7 separate regions of the Homo sapiens genome follow, and regions 1, 2, 3, 4, 5 and 7 are each linked to region 6. Evidence: promoter capture Hi-C in 16 types of primary human blood cells and fetal thymus (Javierre and others, 2016). All regions are on one chromosome and are shown on one strand. Each heading gives the region's core, a stretch centred on a gene start or on the middle of the fragment in contact. The rest is flanking DNA. Distances are from core to core; before and after follow the strand shown.

Region 1 (2,700 bases), core at 4-2,503, 400 kb after region 6:
TGACATAAACATTTTCATTTCCAGTTTTGTTCCAGGGATGATACTCAGACTCTAAAAGAGGTATCATGATCAGTTCTGTTTCTTCAAAAAGCTGCTAGCAAGGGTTATCCTTTAATAAAACTAGAGAAGTATAAACTAAAATATGCCTAGGTTGAAGTTAACCCAGCTCTTAATTTCATACAGTTTTAACATGGACCACTTTATGTAAGCATAAAGAGTAGCATTTTGAGCAAATGGAAGAGCAGCTGGGATTTGGATTTGTTAAAATAGCCCCCATCTAGCTGCTTTATAAAAATTTCTTATTGACAGTTAGGAAATCTAATTGGTTTAATGTATGTTAGTTGGTTACACGGGTCTCTTCTTTGTTTAATCCCTATGTCCGTTGTGTCAACTTTTTTTTTTTGAGACGAAGTCTTGCTGTGTCACCCAGGCTGGAGTATAGTGGTGTGATCTCTGTTTACTGCAACCTCCGTTTTCTGGTTTCAAGCAATTCTCCCTTTCTCAGCCTCCTGAGTAGCTGGGATTACAAGCGCCCACCACTGCACCCAGCTAATTTTGGTGTTTTTAGTAGAGACAGGGTTTTGCCATGTTGGCCAGCCTGGTCTTCAACTCCTTATCTGCCCGCTTGGCCTCTCAAAGTGCTGGGATTACAGGCATGGGCCACCATGCCTTGCCGGTGTTGTACATTCTATGCATATTGGCAAATATATGTGATAACATGTATCCACCATTGTTTTATCATACAGAATAGTTTCACAGCCCTTAAATCCTCCGTGCTCTGCCTATTCATTCCTCCTTCTTAACCCCTGGCAACTACTGATCTTTTTATCGTCTTTATGGTTTTGGCTTTTCCAGTGTCATGTAGTTAGAATTGTACACTAAATATCTTTCTGAGATTGGCTTCTTTCACTTAGTATTACACACTTAATGTTCCTTCATGTCTTTTCATGGCTTGAGAGCTCATTTCATTTTAGTGCTGAATAATATTCCATTGTCAGGATGCACCATAGTTTATTTATTACTTACTGGGTGACGTCTTTGTTGCTTCCAAGTTTTGGCACTCATGAATAAGGTTGCTATAAACATCCATGTGCATGTCTTTGTAGGCATCAGTTTTCAACTCATTTGGGTAAATACCAAGGAGCACAATTGCTGAATTGAATTGTATGGTAAGAGTACATTTAGTTTTGTAAAAAACTGCCAAAACTGTCTTCCAAAGTGACTGTACCATTTTATATTCCCACTAGCAATGAATGAGAGTTCCTATTGTTCCACATCCTTGGCAGCATTTGGTGGTGTTAGTGTTTTGGATTTTGGCCATTCTGATAGGTGTGTAGTGGTATCTCATTTTACTTGTAATTCCCTAATGACAAATAATGTTGAACATCTTTTTATATGCTTATTTACTAGCTGTCTTCTTTAGTGAGGTATCTTTTCAGGTCTTTTGCCTATTTTTAAAATCATGTTCATTTTTGTTTTAAAGAATTTTAAGAGCTCTCTCTCTCTTTTTTTTTATAACAGTTCTTTATCAGATACGTCTTTTGCAAATATTTTTTCTCCCAGTTTATCCCTTGTCTTCTCATTCTCTTGAATATTCCTTTTTTCTCAGAAATATGTTCAGCTTTGAGGGCATCTTGTAAACTTTTAAAATGTTAAATTTATAGATTATGTAATACCATAAAGAATTTGGCCTTTTAGAAGTTCATGTTTGGCTGGGCATGGTGGCTCATGCCTGTAATCCCAGCACTTTGGGAGGTCTAGGCAGGTAGATCACCTGAGGTCAGGAGTTTGAAACCAGTCTCGCCAACATGGCGAAACCCTGTCTCTTCTAAAAATACAAAATTAGCCGGGCATGGTGGCGGGCATCTGTAATCCCAGCTACTTGGGAGGCTGAGGCAGGAGAATCGCTTGAACCCGGGAGGTGGAGGTTGCAGTGAGCCAAGATCATGCCACTGCACTCCAGCCTGGGCAACAGAGCAAGACTCCATCATCTCAAAAAGAAAAAAGTTCATGTTTATATTCCAAATATACAAAACATTGATTCCACATATCAGTTTTTCCTCTTCAGACTTTAAATTTACTTTTCAGGAATATGAAGTGAAACCTGCAAATATACCTTGGTAAACTTTCTTTGCAATTCATGCCAATATAAGGATGCGGCAAATGAGCCATGAGGAACATAATAAGATCATTATCCCATTGAGAAAATATTCATGAAACTTCTGCCTCCTTCTTTCTCTTCCCCTAAATTTGTCAAGTAACTGATTTCATAAAAACTGCTGGAAAATGCTAGTATTGCAGATTCCTTTATAAAGTAGTGCTCTGTTCATCAAAAACGCATATAAGTTTTGGTAATTTACCTAACAATTTGTTTCTGTAAGACTCATAATTCTAAAAACTGAGAGTTTTAATGACAGTAATTTAGTTTTCTCGTTTCATAGCTTGTTTTAAAAAGAGAAAAATTTGTATCTTAAAACGTAAACATGTTTTATAATTCTGCTATTTGTTTATTTGCATAAAGGATTTTTTAAAAAAATAGGATGATTTAATCTTTTAGTCAGAGGAATATATAATAGTATAAGAATTCAGTCTCGTCTTAGCCCTCTCCATTTTAAAAATAAAGTTCTTTGTTTTCTGCCTAATTGAGTTTACAGATAGTATTTCCAGACCCTGGTTATTATGGTAATTCATTGGCTCCTT
Region 2 (2,700 bases), core at 110-2,609, 290 kb after region 6:
TTCAAGGAAAACTCTTCCCCTCAAAATGATATTATTTCTTTTCTTCCATCAGAAAGTCTTTCATGAAAGAAAGCAACTCCATGTTCCCAGATCTAGTACAATATCTAGTACATAACTCATAGTGGTATCAATAAATGTTAAAGGAATGGATGAATGAAAGAATTCATGAATAAATGAGTCTCCTCCTCTTTAACTCCCCCCGCCCCTGCTTTTATCTCCAATCTCTTGAACAACGCTTCTTTAACTCTAAATACCTCAAACTGTTAATCCACCAGGTAAAGGCTTTTATAGAAGAGTTGTCAAATTGAAAGAGTGAAAACATCTTCAGGAATAAGATAAAGTCAAACTGTCTCACTGTAATCCCTAACAGTGTTGGAACATTCCACTTTCAGTGTTAATTTCAATAAATAAAAATAATTATCTAATTTTATCTCAATGATGTTTCCATTGTTTATTTTTTTACATATAGTATCCATGTGGAGTGTTTACTCTTACATATATCAGGGATTGTTTATCTAATTATCTGATCTCTATCAGCACTTAAGGTTGTAAAAAAAAAATAGTGTAGCAATATTGTCTATCTACATGTCTTCAATCCAAAGAAGAAAAATAGTCTTAAAATAGAAGACAGTATTTACAATGGTGGTGAACTTCAATAAACAGATTATATATTCTCTCTGTGTATTTATTCCTACCCAAAAGATCTCTCTCTATCCCCACAGGACTGATTTGAGGTCAAAAGGGGGCATGCATGCAAATGGCTTTGAGAGGTACAAAGCAATACAGAAATAAAATATATCGTGGGCATGTCGCTAGTTCCAACTACTAGCAGGCTGAGACAGGAGGACTGCTTGAGTCCAAGAGTTGGAGGCTAGCCTGGGAAACATAGCAAAATCCTGTCACTAAAAAATAATAACTTTTAAAAAAAGAAATAAAATATATTATTGTTGCAATCTTCTTTTGTTTCCATAATCATCAGCTAGTTAATTCTACTGAAGAAGGCAAGAGGAAGGTTTGTCATACAATTTTGTAGCGATAGTCCCATTGTTTCATCTGTAACCACTCAAAAACACCATCAAAGACAAATGCTTGGAGTCCAAAGAGAAGTGACACCAACCCAAATGCCCATCAATGATAGACTGGATAAAGAATGTGGTATATGCCATGGAATACTATGCAGCCATAAAAAGGAATGAGATCATATCCTTTGCAGGGACATGGATGAAGCTGGAAGCCATCATCCTCAGCAAACTGACACAGGAACAGAAAACCAAACACCGCATGTTCTCACTCATAAGTGGGAGTTGAACAATGAGAATACATGGACAGAGAGAGGAGAACAGCACACATCAGGGTCTGTTGAGGGATAGCGGGTGAGGGGTGAGGGGAGGGAACTTAGAGGACAGGTCAATAGATGCAGCAAATCACCATGGCACGTGTATACCTATGTAACAAACTTGCGCGTTCTGCACATGTATCCCTTTTTTTTGTTTCAGAAGAACTAAAGAAAAAAAAGAAAGACAAAAATTTTTTAAAAAAGAGAAGTGTACAAGTCAGGAGGAGAAATTGGCACTCCAAGACAGAAAAATCAATGACTAAAGTAGCTTCATACTAAACCCTTTGAAGTGGAATCTTCTCTGCTATGTTTCCTGATCTACTCCAGACATCCACCACTTCTGGTGCCTAGTGATACCTGGTTGCTATTCCCTTGTATTAAAAAGTGTGAATAGCAAGTGTGAAGACCAGCCACTCCATTATCTCAAAGAAGGGTTTACATTAGCATGTGTGAGAAAGACTCAGGTAACCTCCCCAAATGGCAAGTGTGTGTGTGTGTGTGTGTGTGTGTGTGTGTGTGTGTGTGTGTGTTTGAGACAGAGTTTCACCCTCTCGCCCAGGCAGGAGTGCAATGGCACCATCTCGGCTCACTGCAACCTACGCCTCCCAGGTTCATGTGATTCTCCTGCCTCAGCCTCCTAGGTAGCTGGGATTACAGGCACACACCACCACACCCGGCTAATGTTTTGTATTTTTAGTAGAGACGGGGTTTCACTATGTTGGCCAGACTGGTCTCGAACTCCTGACCGCATGAACCGCCCACCTTGGCCTCCCAAACTGCTGTAATTACAGGCGTGAACCCGGCCGGCAATGTTTTAATGCTTAATCCATTATGGAATAATTTTCTCTTGCTGTTGCATTATTTCCCTGACATTAAAGCACAGAGCAGTTGTCCTAACAGGAAAAACTGTGATCTTTGTGTCATTTGTTTTGTATACTTCAGCAAATGTTTAATAATTAATCTAGTTTTTACCCCTATCAATCGCTCTCTTATCAATCTCCTTCTAATCACTAAATCCCATTTTCTTCTGTCCTCATCCTCCTTCGAGCTTTCAATTGCAGTCCTCAGTGTTGCTCAACTTCTTCCTGAAATCCTCTCTTAAATGCTACACTGCACTGCACGCTCCAGTTTCTCCTACTACTCAAACCATTAATTCAGGATCTTATCACTTCCCCTTCTTTCTCCTGTGCTCTAAAATTGGGTTTTCCCTAAAGGTTTCCAGTGCTCTTTTTCTCTCTATGTAGTTTTTCTTGGTGATCTCACCCCTTCCACAACTTCTACTATTATCCCTGCATGTCTATCCACATTCCCAGTCTCAAATTCTCTCTAGACAAGATTTCACCTACCTCCAAGACGTTATACCC
Region 3 (2,700 bases), core at 172-2,671, 360 kb after region 6:
GAATATATGTCATCAAATTTTCACCTACTAGTTTTAGCCTCTATTGATGATTCTTGCCTTGATTTTTTAAAACTTAGCAACTTGGTTTTTAAATTACTTTTAAAATAAATACTTTATAATTATAACAGTGGTTGCAAAATGGTGATTTTTTTTTGTCATTTCATCTACATTAAGTAGTTGGCATTCTACAGTAAGTAAGAGCTTTCTTCTTTACTGTGTATATTTTATTTAATTCAATATGGATTTTGTGGCCAGGCACGGTGGCACACACCTGTAATCCCAGCACTTTGGGAGGCCGAGGTGGGCGTATCACCTGAGGTCAGGAGTTCAAGACCAGCCTGGTCAACATGGTGAAACCCTGTCTCTACTAAAAATAAAAAAATTAGCCGGGTGTGGTGGCAGGCGCCTGTAATCCCAGCTACTTGGGAGTCTGGGGCAGGAGAATCGCTTGAACCTGGGAGGTGGAGGTTGCAATGAGTTGAGATTGTGCCATTGCACTCCAGCCTGGGCAACCCAGAGTGAAAGTTCATCTCAAAAAAAAAAAAAATATATATATATATATATCTATATATATATATATATATATATAGATATAGATAGATATATAGATATAGATATATATATAGATATATAGATATAGATATATATATAGATATATATATCTAGATATATATAGATATATATATAGATATATATATATATAGATATATATCTATATATGGATTTTAGTCAGTGGATTATAATTTGTTTCTATCATAATTTATTTCAGTATTTAACTTTTCACAGATTAGACCCCTGATCTGGGCCTTCAGGCTGGTTCCTGTGTCCATTTGACATGTGCCTATCATTAATTGAGGACTTTTTGCCACTAGATGATGTTCTAGAGGCTCATCTTGTTTTTTGTTTTTTGTTTTTTGTTTTTTTTTGAGACGGAGTCTCGCTCTGTTGCCCAGGCTGGAGTGTGCAGTGGCACGATCTCTGCTCACTGCAAGATCTCATCTTGTTTTTTTTCCCTGCCCTGCCCTGGAATTACTACTCCAGGTGTCTGTTACTTTTTGTGTAGAGTGTATACAGTATTTTGAAACCAAAAACTGGGAACCAAGTGTGCTAATTAATTACCTGGTGTCATTGCCACCAGGCTTTTTCAGTGGACATACCTACAAACACATAATACACACATCTCTGTCTTTATTTCTGCCCATCTTTTTGTCTGTTTGAAACCTTGAGTTTATTTATACTGATAATTCAATACCTAATCCAAATGACTTCCAAGCTATAGGCTACGTCTATTTGTTACCCCCTTTCCTCTCAAAGCATGGGTTGCCTCTGGGATTGGATTTCTTGCCAGTGCGTTTGGCCATCTGGTAGGGGAATAGGTAGGACAAAAGTGAAGAAAAATACTGCTGCCTCCCTCGTGAGGCTTTCCATAGTTTCAAGACCGTTTTCTCTAAGAGGAATGAAGTTGCAGCTTCTACTTCTAGTTGAGGCTGGAGTGGACATGCACAACATCAGCTGTCTGCAAAAATAACTAAATAGCTACACTATGTAGTATAACAGCAAAAGGTCTGAAGTGTGGAGCAGCCGTGTGTGTGTGTGCGTGCGCGCGCGTGTGTGTATAGTAACTATTCATTTGCTAGGGCTGCAGTAACAAATTACTACACGCTGAGTGGCTTAAAGCAACAGAAATTTACTGTCTCACAGCTCTTGAAATTGAGAATCTGGAATATAAACAACACAATCAATTATTTGTTGTTTTTCAGTTTTTATAGTTTTTTATCTACTCTGTGGTTTCAGATAATGCTTTATGGCATATTGTGTAATAGTTAATTATAAGATAATCAGAACTTTTTATATATAGGGATGTTAGGGGTTTCTTTGTAGAGCGTTGAACTAAATTGTATTTTTCCACTTTAGTGATATGGTTTGGCTGTGTCCCCACCCAAATCTCAACTTCAGTTGTATCTCTCAGAATTCCTCTGTGTTGTGGGAGGGACCCGGGGGGGGTAATTTAATCATGGCGGCCAGTCTTTCTTGTGCTAGTCTTGTGATAGTGAATAAGTCTCATGAGATTTGATGGGTTTATCAGGGGTTTCCACTTTTGCTTCTTCCACATTTTCTCTTGCCACCGCCATGTAAGAAGTGCCTTTTGCCTCCCACCATGATTCTGAGGCCTCCCCAGCCATGTGGAACTGTGAGTCCAATTAAACCTCTTTTTCTTCCCAATCTCAGGTTTGTCTTCATCAGCAGCCTGAAAATGGACTAATGCAGTAAATTGGTACCAGTAGAGTGTGGCGTTGCTGAAAAGATACCCAAAAACGTAGAAGTGTCTTTGGAACTGGGTAACAGGCAGAGGCTGGAACAGTTTGGAGGGCTCAGAAGAAGACAGGAAAATGTAGGAAAGTGTGAAACTGTCTGGAGACTTGTTGAATGGCTTTGACAAAAATGCTGATAGTGATATGAACAATAAGATCCAAGCTGAGGTGGTCTCAGATGGAGATGAGGAACTTGTTGGGAACTGGAGCAAAGGTGACTCTCATTATGTTTTAGCAAAGACACTGGCGGCATTTTGCCCCTGCGCTAGAGATTTGTAGAACTTTGAAATTGAGAGAGATGATTTAGGGTATCTGATGGAAGAAATTTCAAAGCAGCAAACCATTCAAAAGGTGACTTGGGTGCTATTAAAAGCATTCTGTTTTAAAG
Region 4 (2,700 bases), core at 115-2,614, 420 kb after region 6:
AATTCTTTTAAAGCTTTTTTTCTTTCTTTCTTTGTTTTTTTTTTTTTTTGGAGACGAAGTCTCGCTCTGTTACCCAGGCTGGAGTGCGGTGGCACGATCTTGGCTCACTGCAACCTCTGCCTCCTGGGTTTAAGCGATTCTCCTGTGTCAGCCTCCTGAGTAGCTGGGATTACAGGCATGCACCACCACGTCCAACTAATTTTTGTATTTTTAATAGAGACGGGGTTTCACCGTGTTGGTCAGGTTGGTCTCGAACTCCTGACTCCTTGATCCACCCGCCTCGGCCTCCCAAAGTGCTGGGTTTACAGGCATGAGCCACCATATCTGGCCTTTTTCTTTCTTATAACTGAACACAAATTTAAAATTTTTTCCAGGCAAATTATAGCCATTAGTTTTTTGGTTTTCAGAATAGTTGAAAAGAGATGTGGTGTTCATAAGTCATTACATTCAGAACAAGTGTGATTTAGGGCTTTTCTTTCCAAGGACCTACTGGTTGAGGCTCAGTGGTGTTAAAATTTCTTAAACATATTCCTAACACCTGGATTTTGTAGCCAAGGTTCAGTCAGTCACCTCTCATCCAAGCCTCAACTGAAAAGTACAGTGGGTTGTGAAAACTAAATGTGAAGATGCTGTTGACATCTATGTGTCCCCTGGAGGCAAGTGCTGCAGCCCTGCAGTTTGGTAGAGAGTGGGACCTACAGGGCTGTACTTCCCTGTGACAGGTGTGACTGTAGATTCTTGTCCCAGGTGCTGTGCCATAGGCTTGGTGTACCCAGCCCAGTAATTCACCTCACCTCTAGACACTGAAGCTTTGTCAAAGTCCCTCTCTGATTTGGAGTCTTCTGCACCCATAATTTCAGTGGGTTGAAAGTGAAATTAAACATTCTCTTCCTTTTCCATAATCTTATAGATGGAGAATTCTATGGACTCTGTTAACCTTGATGAACTTTGTTTCTTTGAAATGTAGAAGGAACGTTTGGGAATTTCTCAAGATGTGAAGATCTATTTTAACTTGGATATCTTGATCTAAAATTTCACAAAAGTTTCTTTCTCATTTACTTTGTAAAAATTCTTATGGGCTACTTTATTTGGCCTTATGGCCATATAAGAAGCATAAATGTATTGGCCATTACTCTAATGGCCTATAACTTGTCAGGATATGTTTAAGCTTTGATAAAGTTTGTTTTTCTTTAGTTCTCCAAGGGACTTAGTTGGATTTTGTCTTTAATCTTGCAGCATCCACAAATCCAGAAGAAATCTCAATATATCAAATACCTTTGTTGTGATGATGTGAGGACACTGCATCAGTGGGTCAATGGGATCCGCATTGCAAAGGCATGTCTCCTTTTGATTTGATGATGGAATAATGAGGTGTTTGTCGATGATATAGTTTTCGTTTTCATGACAACTATTCTGACTATTTCATGTTCATGGATTTGCCAGTGCCTACGTTTTTCAGGCCTAAGTTTCAAGTTTTAAATGTTGTCTTTTTTCCTTGTTTATAGGGATAAACTTTTAACATTTGGTATACTTGGAATAATATTGCTGGTAAAAGCTTGTGTAGTATCAAAGTGATTTATTTTGGCTTTGGAGAATGCATTATATGATTCTTAAATAGTAGAGTTTAGCCTAAGCAAAGTAAGTTTTGGAAAAATTAAATTACTTTAAGTAATGATCATTTACCAACCACATTTGGAGCAGTATCCTGAAGAGTGCTAAAAAGCTGCCCTTGGATCAAGAATTTGGGGTGAAAAAACATTAATGTTTATAACAAACAGAATCAAGTGTTGACTTCTTGCTGCCCCTCTAAAAATGAGGAGAAATAAGAATAGATTATAATTTATGGTATTAGAGGAATTTTTGAACTATCATAGGTATTAATTTTAATACAGACCATCAATCAGTAAACAGAAATATGTCCCCCATTTCACCTTATCCTTCTGTATCATACTCAGTAAAGTTTAGATGTCACCATTTCCTGTCTTCTCTTTAGTATGGGAAGCAGCTCTATATGAACTACCAAGAAGCCTTGAAGAGGACAGAGTCAGCCTATGATTGGACTTCCTTATCCAGCTCCAGCATTAAATCGGGATCCAGTTCTTCCAGCATCCCAGGTAGTTCAAAATGCTTCAAAGCACTATTTTGCGATTAATATGAAGGTCTCTGTAGAGACTGATAGTAGACCTGGAAATTTCAACTTGATTCTTAAAAACCGGAGCCATACTTAATTCCTAAATTATAATCAATAGATGCCTTTTTAAAAATTGCTAGAGGGTACAGTATCATGGGCTAGTTCACAAATGTATTTGAAATGAAAAATCAGTATATAGATTTCTAAAGCCAGTTTTGTTATTTATATTTATAAAATTTATTCAAAACATACATACTGCTGGACACTGTTAATGCATAATTTGGGATAAAACATTACTTGGAAAGAATCTTTGTACTCAGAAACCATGAAGAAGCTGCACTCCTTCAGATTCCTATATCCTTTAAACAAGTGCATGCTATGATTACATCTTAACATAAATCTTCTTTCAATTCAAAATGTTTCATGAATGAGATCCATGTCATCTAAAAGCAGAATTTTTAAATTTTTGCATTGGATGTGATGAAAGAAATAATAACTTTAGTAGTATATTTAAAAGCTGCATGACTCTATTTCATCTCTATTAAGTAAAAACAAATTTAGAATGTGTA
Region 5 (2,781 bases), core at 45-2,544, 380 kb after region 6:
GGAGTTCATAGTACTATATCTGCCTTCCTGATAGGGTGGTTCAGAGAACAAAAGTTGTTCATAAACAGGTTTTTTTTTTTTTTTTTTTTTTTTTTTTTTAATAGACGGAGTCTCATTCTGTCGCCCAGGCTGGAGTGCAGTGGCATGATCTTGGCTCACTGCAACCTTGCCTCCCGGGTTAAGTGATTCTCCTGCCTCAGCCTCCTGAGTAGCTGGGATTACAGGCGTGTGCCACCATGCCTGGCTAATTTTTGTATTTTTGGTAGAGACGGGGTTTCACCATGCTGGCCAGGCTGGTCTCAAACTCCTGACCTTGTGATCCGCCCACTTCCCAAAGTGCTGGGGTTACAGGTGTGAGCCACTGCGCCCAGCCAGAGTTCGTAATACTATATCTGCCTTCCTGATAGGGTGGTTCAGAGAACCGTAAGTTATTCATGAACAGATTTTTAAAAGATGGAATTTTTTTCAGCATGTGACTGGATAAGATAGGGAATAGATTTGCGGTAACAAGTTCAACAAAAGCTGAGTTTGGTGAAAGAGAATTCTTTATTGAGTTGTTTTCATCAAAGAGATGGTAATTCTGTCATAGGGTAGCAGCAAGAAAGAAGAAAAATGGGGCAAAGTTAAGTCAACCTTTCCAATAAGCTTGTGTTGACAATATTCTAATATGGGATAAAAGAATCTATTTATGAATAATCAGTACTAAAGTAAAATCTTGAATTTTAACTATTACTTGACATCATTGATTTTTTTTTCGTAACTTATTTAATTCTTTGGATTAATTTCCATCAGTAGGTAACTCTTGGTACCCACCCATGTGCGTAGCTTTGTTTTTGGTACTGTGGAGCACAAAAGGAGTATGAATCATGGTGGTTTGGAGATAAACTTGAGTTATTTCAAAGAAAGCGAATCTTATCAATCTGAAGAATAAACTTTCATTTATTTAAAATGAAACTTATCTAAGTGGTATATATTCTATAGAGAACTTGAAAACTGATTTCTAGGCCGGACGTGGTGGCTCACACCTGTAATCCCAACACTTTGGGAGGCCGAGGCGGGCGGATCACCTGAGGTCAGGAGTTTGAGACCACCCTGGCCAACATGGTGAAACCCTGTCTCTACTAAAAATACAAAAAAAAATTAGTTGGATGTGGTGGCGCATGCCTGTAATCCCAGCTGCTCGGGAGGGTGAGGTAGGAGAATCGCTTGAACCAGGGAGTCGGAGGTTGCAGTGAGCCAAGATCGTGCCACTGCACTCCAGCCTGGCAACAGCAAGACTCCGTCTACAAAAAAAAAAGGAAAAAAAAAACTGATTTCTATTTTGTGATACCTGGGAATTATATTTAGCCACCAGCTACTTAATATGTATCATTTCATGTCCTTTAGATTTACCTGCTAGGATATGAGCAATATTTTATTAGGGATGTGCTTTCTTGGCCATTCTTTGTTTTGTATGTTGATATTCCTTCCAATCAGTTTACAGTATTTTGAGTTGGATTAAGATGCGTGAGGGACAAGTTATAAACTAATCATTAAGGATCTTCTAATACCGTATGCATGTCTTTCTGTCTGTAAAATGTGCTCATTATAAAAGTTCATACAGTATAGGGGCAAATTGAAGTAAAACGTGAAAAGTTCCTCTCTCCCAGCAAGCGCACTTCAAATGGTATCTAGTGGTATCCATGGGTATCACTGTGAATACTGCAAAGATACCAGTGCTCAATGGTATAATGTTTAATATAAGAGTTTAATGTAAGGTTTGGTGAGTAAACCAGGACTATAGCAGGGAAAGGAGTTAAAAAGCCTTATCTAGCTAGCCTGTTCTTTTGCCTCACCTAGGAGTATAGAAAGGTGGTTTAACAAACCCGGAACTTGCTTCCATTTGCTTTTTTCCTAGGTCTAGTCTGTTCTGATTCAAATAAAGTAAACTGAGGCAAGCTTAATATATCCTGAACTCATGTATCAAATTGTCTTTAAGTGCAAATACAGTTTTAAAAATATTTTAGTTTTTCATGCATGGCGTTAAATAGTTCTATGAGATATGTTACGGAAAACTATCCTCTACTCACATACACATCATATTCTGCTTCCAGAGGTAAGCAATTTTTGCTCATTTAGCTGATTCTTAGGGACTTTACCTCTTTATCATTAAGTCTACATACACATTGCCATTTCTTGATTTTCTTTTTAGTGGTATGTATTACCTATTGACTTCTCACTCTACTCCAGAAGATGGAGGGTATAGCTGTCTATATACAGCTTCTTCTCACTTCTCCCTTCCTGTTTTTCCATTCTCCAAATATATTTTGATTGAGCTCATATTCAGTGTTTATATTAAAATGACTATATACTTGAAATTTACTGCTAACCTCCATATACTCTTGTGACTACATCCCCTTTCTGGAATATCATTTTACTTTTACTGGAATGAATATATGTTTAAAAATATTTAATTTTCTATATGGTGATCACTGTTTCAACTTCAGACTTTCTCCCAGTTGATTAAATCTCTCTGGTTCAAGCCAAATTAGCGTTCCATTAATTGCATCTTCTTAAAATTCTATTTATTTCTTTTCTTTCTTTTTTTTTTTTTTGTAGTCTTCAGGATTATCCTTAGGTTTTTTTTCCTAGGCTGGTGAGCTTCTCTGGAGAAGATTCTTCCAGTCTTCTATGCTGGCTGCCAGTGTTTTAGTAGCCCATTTGGGAAAGAAGGGTTGGAACATGAGGATGGTCCCCATTGTTCCAGTCTATGAACTTTCATCAAATCCTTCTAGGTCAGGG
Region 6 (2,700 bases), core at 173-2,672:
CCCACCCAAGTGAGCACTCAATAATCTTTATTGTATTGACTCTAAGCTTAAGAAATCCTAAATGTCCTGCCCTCTCCCCAAGCAAGCTCACACTCATCACCACTAAATGCGGTCACACTCAACTTTCCAGTATTGGGAGGGTCCTGTTACTGGTTGAGATAAATTTACTTTAGGAAATTTAAATACTTCTAAGAGTGTTTATTTAATCTTTACATATTTAAAACATGTAAAAATAAGAAAACATATATGAATATTTCTTCTCCAGTAAAAATTAAATCATCAAATATCTTTTGAGTACCTACTTCATACAAACTACATGGTTTCTTAACCAAGAAGGTCTAGAGAGAGATAAGGTTGAGATTCAATGGATATACTCATCATTTTAAGCCGTGTAACAAACCTGGTGTCAGTCTCTGAAGAGCTGAAAACTGAGGATCTGCATCTGAAACCCACACGTAGGTCAGGCAACAATTAAGTATTGTATGCCAAACAGACTGGTGGCTTTCTTTCTTTCCTTTTCCTTGTCTTTTTTTTTTGGCAATTTCAAACTTTTATTTTTAAATAATTGGCTAATTAGCTAGTAGAATTGATTAAGAGAACCTTAAAACCTTGAATTAAGTAAAGAAGGCATTCTTCCCACAATTTCCCTACATTTTAAACAAGCTGGCTAATTCATTTATAAAGTATATGAATCCGAGGACCTTAAAACCTTGAATTGTATAGCAAAAAAACTCTTCCCAGGATTTGCTTAAGTCAATTTTTTTTAAAGGAACTTGTGAGCTCATCCTGAAACCCAGCTCAAATGTATTCAGGACTATGGCTATCCTTTCCCTCTTAAATCACTTCCAGTCTCATAGAAGGGTCTGAAATTGCCTGTGTCTCTCTACTAAACCAACTCACATGCATTCATGAAGCCCCTACTAAATACCTGGCGCTCTGTTCTGAGCTATCTCTTTGCCTTATTTGCTGCCGCCCAACTGCTCCCTGCTGGCCCTGGAATACAGAGCCAGCCAAGCCAGATTGGAGTTTTACCTTTAACTTCTGGCTTTGCTATAAATCACTGCCTTTGACTGCTGAAACAAATGAAACCCAGGTAGGAGAAACACCTCCTCCATCTTCATGCTCCAAAAGTCTCACTCACCTTTGCAGAAGACAGGGATGAAGAGAAGAAAAAACAGGAGAGTGCAGGGCCAGGTCCTGGTAGCCAGGTTCAGCTGAGCCTTGTGCCGCTGAAATCCAAGGCAAGCCATGGCTTTATGGGAGCGGTGTTCAGGTCTTCAGGAAGTAGAGCAAAACCTTTCAGGATCCTGAAGCTTTGAAATGTGTTTGAACCCACACAGAATCAAGGACTTTATATAGATAGCTTTGATCCCAGATATGTATTACACATGTGCACACACAGAAGGCACTTGAATAGAAAGCCTTTTTGTTTTGGTTTTACGAGAAAGGAAGCCGTGGGTTTAGCTGTTACGTCGAAAAGACAACCTCAAGCACTCAACTGAACAAAACAAGCCAATCCATGGATGGAAAATGTATTCAATTTGAAACTGAAGCTTCATGTTCACTTTGAGGATCTGGATAACTAAGTGGAGACTTGGAGAATTTCCTGGAGTACAAGGGTCCTCCTAAATCCCAATTTTATTCAATCTTCTGGGCATCCTTAACCATCCAGTCCAATTCATTTCATTGACAACTCCAAAACTACTAGGCTGCTAACTTTCTGAGCCCTTGGGCTAATGGCAGGATTTGTCTAGGCATCATTAATAAAAACTGTATTCTATCTGTGAAGCACCATCCTTCTAATGGTCCCTTGACAGCTTTACAAATAAGTTTATTTCTCCTAAATCCATTTAGCATTTGGTTAAGAGAAAAAAACTAAAATCACAAGAAATAAACTGAAAATAGGCGGAAAAGAAGCTGCCTCTGGTTTTGCAGAAGGAAAGAATTCAGGTGTTCTTAAAAGCCTTAACTCAACAGAGACAAAACAGAGTTGAAGAAGGTCCAAAGAAAAGCCAACCCAAATGATTCAAGAGATTAGAGCCGTCCATAAAAGGATAGACTTTTTTTTCTAATACAAATTTTTCAAGCAGAAAATTCAAAAGTGAAGATTAAATATAACCAGAGTCCTTAAATTTGTGACAGCTGTAGACAGGACCAATGATCTAACAAAAAGAATTTGAAACATTGAGGACCTTCCTTAAATCTGGAGAGTTTTCATACATTTTAATAAAGAAAGAAACATTCATGGGGAACCTGTAATATGCCCGGAATTCTGTGCACTTAGGATTGAATGATGACAAAACAAAAACATAGTTGATACCTTAAGGGGCTTCTAGAAGGCTGACATGCAAACAGACAGTTGTAACAGGGAATATGACATTTGCCTACTCCAGTCCGTCCATGGTTTCCCATTGTCCACACCTCAGCACAGCAGAGGAGACTCTGCAGAATACTCACCAAATGCCTCCCTCTTTGGCCTGTACCCCAGCATTCCCTCCCATTCCCCCTTCCTGCATTTGTCTTTCCTTCCACGTGCCTCTTTCAGGCCTCATCACCTTTACCCATGCTGTTCCTACTGCCTTTTTTCTCCTATTATCTTATTTTATACTCCTTCTCATCCTCCAGGACTTAGCTCAGCTGTCATCTCCTCCAGGAAGCCTCTTCTTTTTTTTTTTAAAATTTTATTATTATTATACTTTA
Region 7 (2,730 bases), core at 7-2,506, 340 kb after region 6:
AAATTGCATATATCAGAAGTGAATTCTAATTCTAATTCTGCTATGAAGTCTTTTAGGTTGCTTGTTTCTTTAAAAAATTTTTTATTGCCTTACTGAGGTATAATTTCTATATAATAAACTGCACATATTAAAGTGTACAATTTGGTAAGTTTTAATACACCCATGAAATCATCACTGTAATCAAAACTGAACATTTCCATCATCTCCCAAAGTTTCCTCATACCTCTTTGTAATTTGTCCCCCTCTACCCCTGTCTTACGGCAATCTGTCACTATGGATTGGTTTGCATTTTCTAGAATTTTATATAAATGGAATCATACAGTGTCTTGTTCCCTTCCCCTCCTAACCCACCCAAGTCTGGCTTGTTTTCATGCAGAATAATAATTTTTAGATTCTTCGATCTTGTTGCTTGGATTAGTTCCTTTTTATTGCTAAAGTATTCCATTATGCATATATGCCACATTTCGTTTTTCCAGGCACCTTTGATAGAAATTTAGGCTGTTTCCAATTGTGGACAGGTTTTCATTTCTTGAGGATGAATACCTATGAGGACGTGTTGGGTTATAGGGTAGGTGTATTTTTAACTTTAATTTTTAAAGTGGGCAAATTTTTCCAAAGTTGTATCATTTTATATCCAACAGCATAATATGACACTTGGTGTATATCCTAAGACTTGGTATTGTCAGTCTTTCTCATTCTAGCCATTTTAATGGGTATGTAATGATATAACCGTAGCTTTAATTCACCTTTCGCTGATTATTATTGATGTTGAGCAATGTAATGTTCTTAGTCATTTGGGAAGTGACAGCAAGTCTTTGCCCATTTAAAAAATAAGATTGTATATATTTTTTAAATTTAGTTTAACAATTATTTACTCGATACAAGTTCTTTATTGGATATATTTGCAAATATTTTCTCTTAGTCTGTAACTTAGCTTGTCTTTTTTATTTTTTACTTTTGAGACAGAGTCTCGCTCTGTTGCCCAGGCTGGAGTACAGTGGCGTGATCTCGGCTCACTGCAACTTCCACCTCCCAGGTTCAAGGGATTCTCCTGCCCCAGCCTCCCGAGTAGCTGGGACTACAGGCGCATGCCACCACACCCAGCTAACTTTGTATTTTTAGTAGAGATGGGGTTTCACCATGTTAGCCAGGATGGTCTCGGTCTCCTGACCTGGTGATCCACCTGCCTCGGCCTCCCAAAGTGCTGGGATTACAGGCCTGAGCCACTGCTCCTGGCCGTGTATTTTTTTAATGGTGTTTTTCAAAGAGCAGAAGTTTTTATATTGGGCTTCATCAAAATTACCAATTTTTCCTTTTATGGTTAGTGTCGTTTGTGCCCTAATAAATTTTTGCCTACACCAAAGTTCAGAAAGTATATTTCCATATTTTCTCCTTGGAGTTTATAATTTTAGCTTTTACATTTTAGTCTACAATCCATTTTGAATTAATTTTTGTTTATGAGTGATATCGAGCCCTCTGCCCCATTTATATCTAGTTGTGCCAGTGTCATTTGTTAAAAACACTTTCCTCATTGCCTACCTCAGTTCTGACGTGGTTTTTTTTTTTTTTTGAGACAGAGTCTCGCTCTTTCACCCAGGCCAGAGTGCAGTGGCACAATCTCAGCTCACTGCAAGCTCCGCCCCCCGTATTCACGCCATTCTCCTGCCTCAGCCTCCCGAGTAGCTGGGACTACAGGCGCCCGCCACCACGCCCAGCTAATTTTTTGTATTTTTAATAGAGACGGGGTTTAACCGTGTTAACCAGGATGGTCTTGATCTCCTGACCCCATGATCCGCCCGCCTCGGCCTCCCAAAGTGCTGGGATTACAGGCGTGAGCCACCGCCCCTGACCTCTGGCATCCTTACTGAAAATTGTTTGACATTTTATGTGTGGGTCTATTCCTGGACTTTCCATTCTGTTACATTGATGTGATTCTCTATCCTTTTGCCAGTACTACATTGTCTTGATTATTTAGCTGGATAGTGAGTCTTGAAATCAGGTAAAATTCATTCCTCCCCTACTCTTTTCAAGGTTCTTTTCTTTTTCTTTTTTTTTTTTTTTTTTTTTGAGACAGAGTCTTGCTCTGTTGCCCAGGCTAGAGTGCAGTAACGTGATCTCAGCTCACTGCAATCTTCCAGGTTCAAGCGATTCTCCCACCTCAGCCTCCCGAGTAGCTGGGATTACAGGTGCCCGCCACCATGCTCGGCTAATTTTTGTAGTTTTAGTAGAGATGAGGTTTCACGATGTTGGCCAGGCTGGTCTCGAACTCCTGACCTCAGGTGATCCGCCTGCCTCAGCCTTCCAAACTGCTGGGATTACAGGTGTGAGCCACTGCACCCAACCCTTTTCAAGGTTCTTTTGGCTAGTCTAGGTCATTTGCTTTTCCATATAAATTTTAGAATACTCTTGTCAGTTTCTGTAAAAAAATGCCCACTGGGACATTGGTTGTAATTACATTGAATACCTAGTTCATTTTGGGGGAGAATAGGCATTGATAATATTGCATCTTCTAATCTATTAAGATGGCATATCTGTCCGTTTATTTAGAGCTTACACAGCAATGTTTATATTTTTCAGTTGCCTTACAATGTATTACATAAACACTGCATGCTGTCCTATTTCATTTCCTACAGCTACATCATTATTTACACATAGCTTTATTTTTATGATATAAATCGAGATTTGGTATGGAGATTTTTCCATATGATAACATCTAATTCATAACAGGAC

Evidence for each region. The method cuts DNA at HindIII sites, captures the fragments that hold promoters and counts their contacts. A CHiCAGO score of 5 or more calls a contact.
Region 1: a fragment that was not itself captured here is called in contact with the fragment with the promoter of CTLA4 in region 6 in 7 of 17 cell types (naive CD4 T cells, M2 macrophages, monocytes and 4 more); the score reaches 6.9 in naive CD4 T cells.
Region 2: a fragment that was not itself captured here is called in contact with the fragment with the promoter of CTLA4 in region 6 in 2 of 17 cell types (monocytes and M1 macrophages); the score reaches 6.8 in monocytes.
Region 3: a fragment that was not itself captured here is called in contact with the fragment with the promoter of CTLA4 in region 6 in 2 of 17 cell types (monocytes and M1 macrophages); the score reaches 8.5 in monocytes.
Region 4: a fragment that was not itself captured here is called in contact with the fragment with the promoter of CTLA4 in region 6 in 1 of 17 cell types (M1 macrophages); the score reaches 5.2 in M1 macrophages.
Region 5: a fragment that was not itself captured here is called in contact with the fragment with the promoter of CTLA4 in region 6 in 12 of 17 cell types (naive CD4 T cells, total CD4 T cells, naive CD8 T cells and 9 more); the score reaches 22.4 in naive CD4 T cells.
Region 7: a fragment that was not itself captured here is called in contact with the fragment with the promoter of CTLA4 in region 6 in 1 of 17 cell types (monocytes); the score reaches 5.2 in monocytes.

The regions. Positions count from the first base shown.
Region 1 is chr2:203,463,581-203,466,280 of GRCh38, reverse strand. All of the region lies in intron 4 of RAPH1 (Ras association (RalGDS/AF-6) and pleckstrin homology domains 1), which reads left to right. Among named protein-coding and RNA genes, the nearest start is that of RAPH1, 70 kb to the left of the region's middle. The HindIII fragment of the contact is 3,082 bases long and covers 1-2,700 here.
Region 2 is chr2:203,575,842-203,578,541 of GRCh38, reverse strand. No RefSeq gene overlaps it. Among named protein-coding and RNA genes, the nearest start is that of RAPH1, 42 kb to the right of the region's middle. The HindIII fragment of the contact is 4,941 bases long and covers 1-2,700 here.
Region 3 is chr2:203,504,746-203,507,445 of GRCh38, reverse strand. All of the region lies in intron 1 of RAPH1 (Ras association (RalGDS/AF-6) and pleckstrin homology domains 1), which reads left to right. Among named protein-coding and RNA genes, the nearest start is that of RAPH1, 29 kb to the left of the region's middle. The HindIII fragment of the contact is 7,823 bases long and covers 1-2,700 here.
Region 4 is chr2:203,447,373-203,450,072 of GRCh38, reverse strand. RAPH1 (Ras association (RalGDS/AF-6) and pleckstrin homology domains 1) reads left to right here. Exons shown (of 14, transcript NM_213589.3): 11 at 1,237-1,335; 12 at 1,994-2,114. Among named protein-coding and RNA genes, the nearest start is that of RAPH1, 87 kb to the left of the region's middle. The HindIII fragment of the contact is 387 bases long and covers 1,171-1,557 here.
Region 5 is chr2:203,485,907-203,488,687 of GRCh38, reverse strand. All of the region lies in intron 4 of RAPH1 (Ras association (RalGDS/AF-6) and pleckstrin homology domains 1), which reads left to right. Among named protein-coding and RNA genes, the nearest start is that of RAPH1, 48 kb to the left of the region's middle. The HindIII fragment of the contact is 1,293 bases long and covers 648-1,940 here.
Region 6 is chr2:203,866,493-203,869,192 of GRCh38, reverse strand. CTLA4 (cytotoxic T-lymphocyte associated protein 4) reads right to left here and starts at 1,422. Exons shown (of 4, transcript NM_005214.5): 1 at 1,142-1,422. The coding sequence starts at 1,250. The HindIII fragment of the contact is 240 bases long and covers 1,316-1,555 here.
Region 7 is chr2:203,522,233-203,524,962 of GRCh38, reverse strand. The region is part of intron 1 of RAPH1 (Ras association (RalGDS/AF-6) and pleckstrin homology domains 1); the gene reads left to right. Among named protein-coding and RNA genes, the nearest start is that of RAPH1, 12 kb to the left of the region's middle. The HindIII fragment of the contact is 7,464 bases long and covers 1-2,730 here.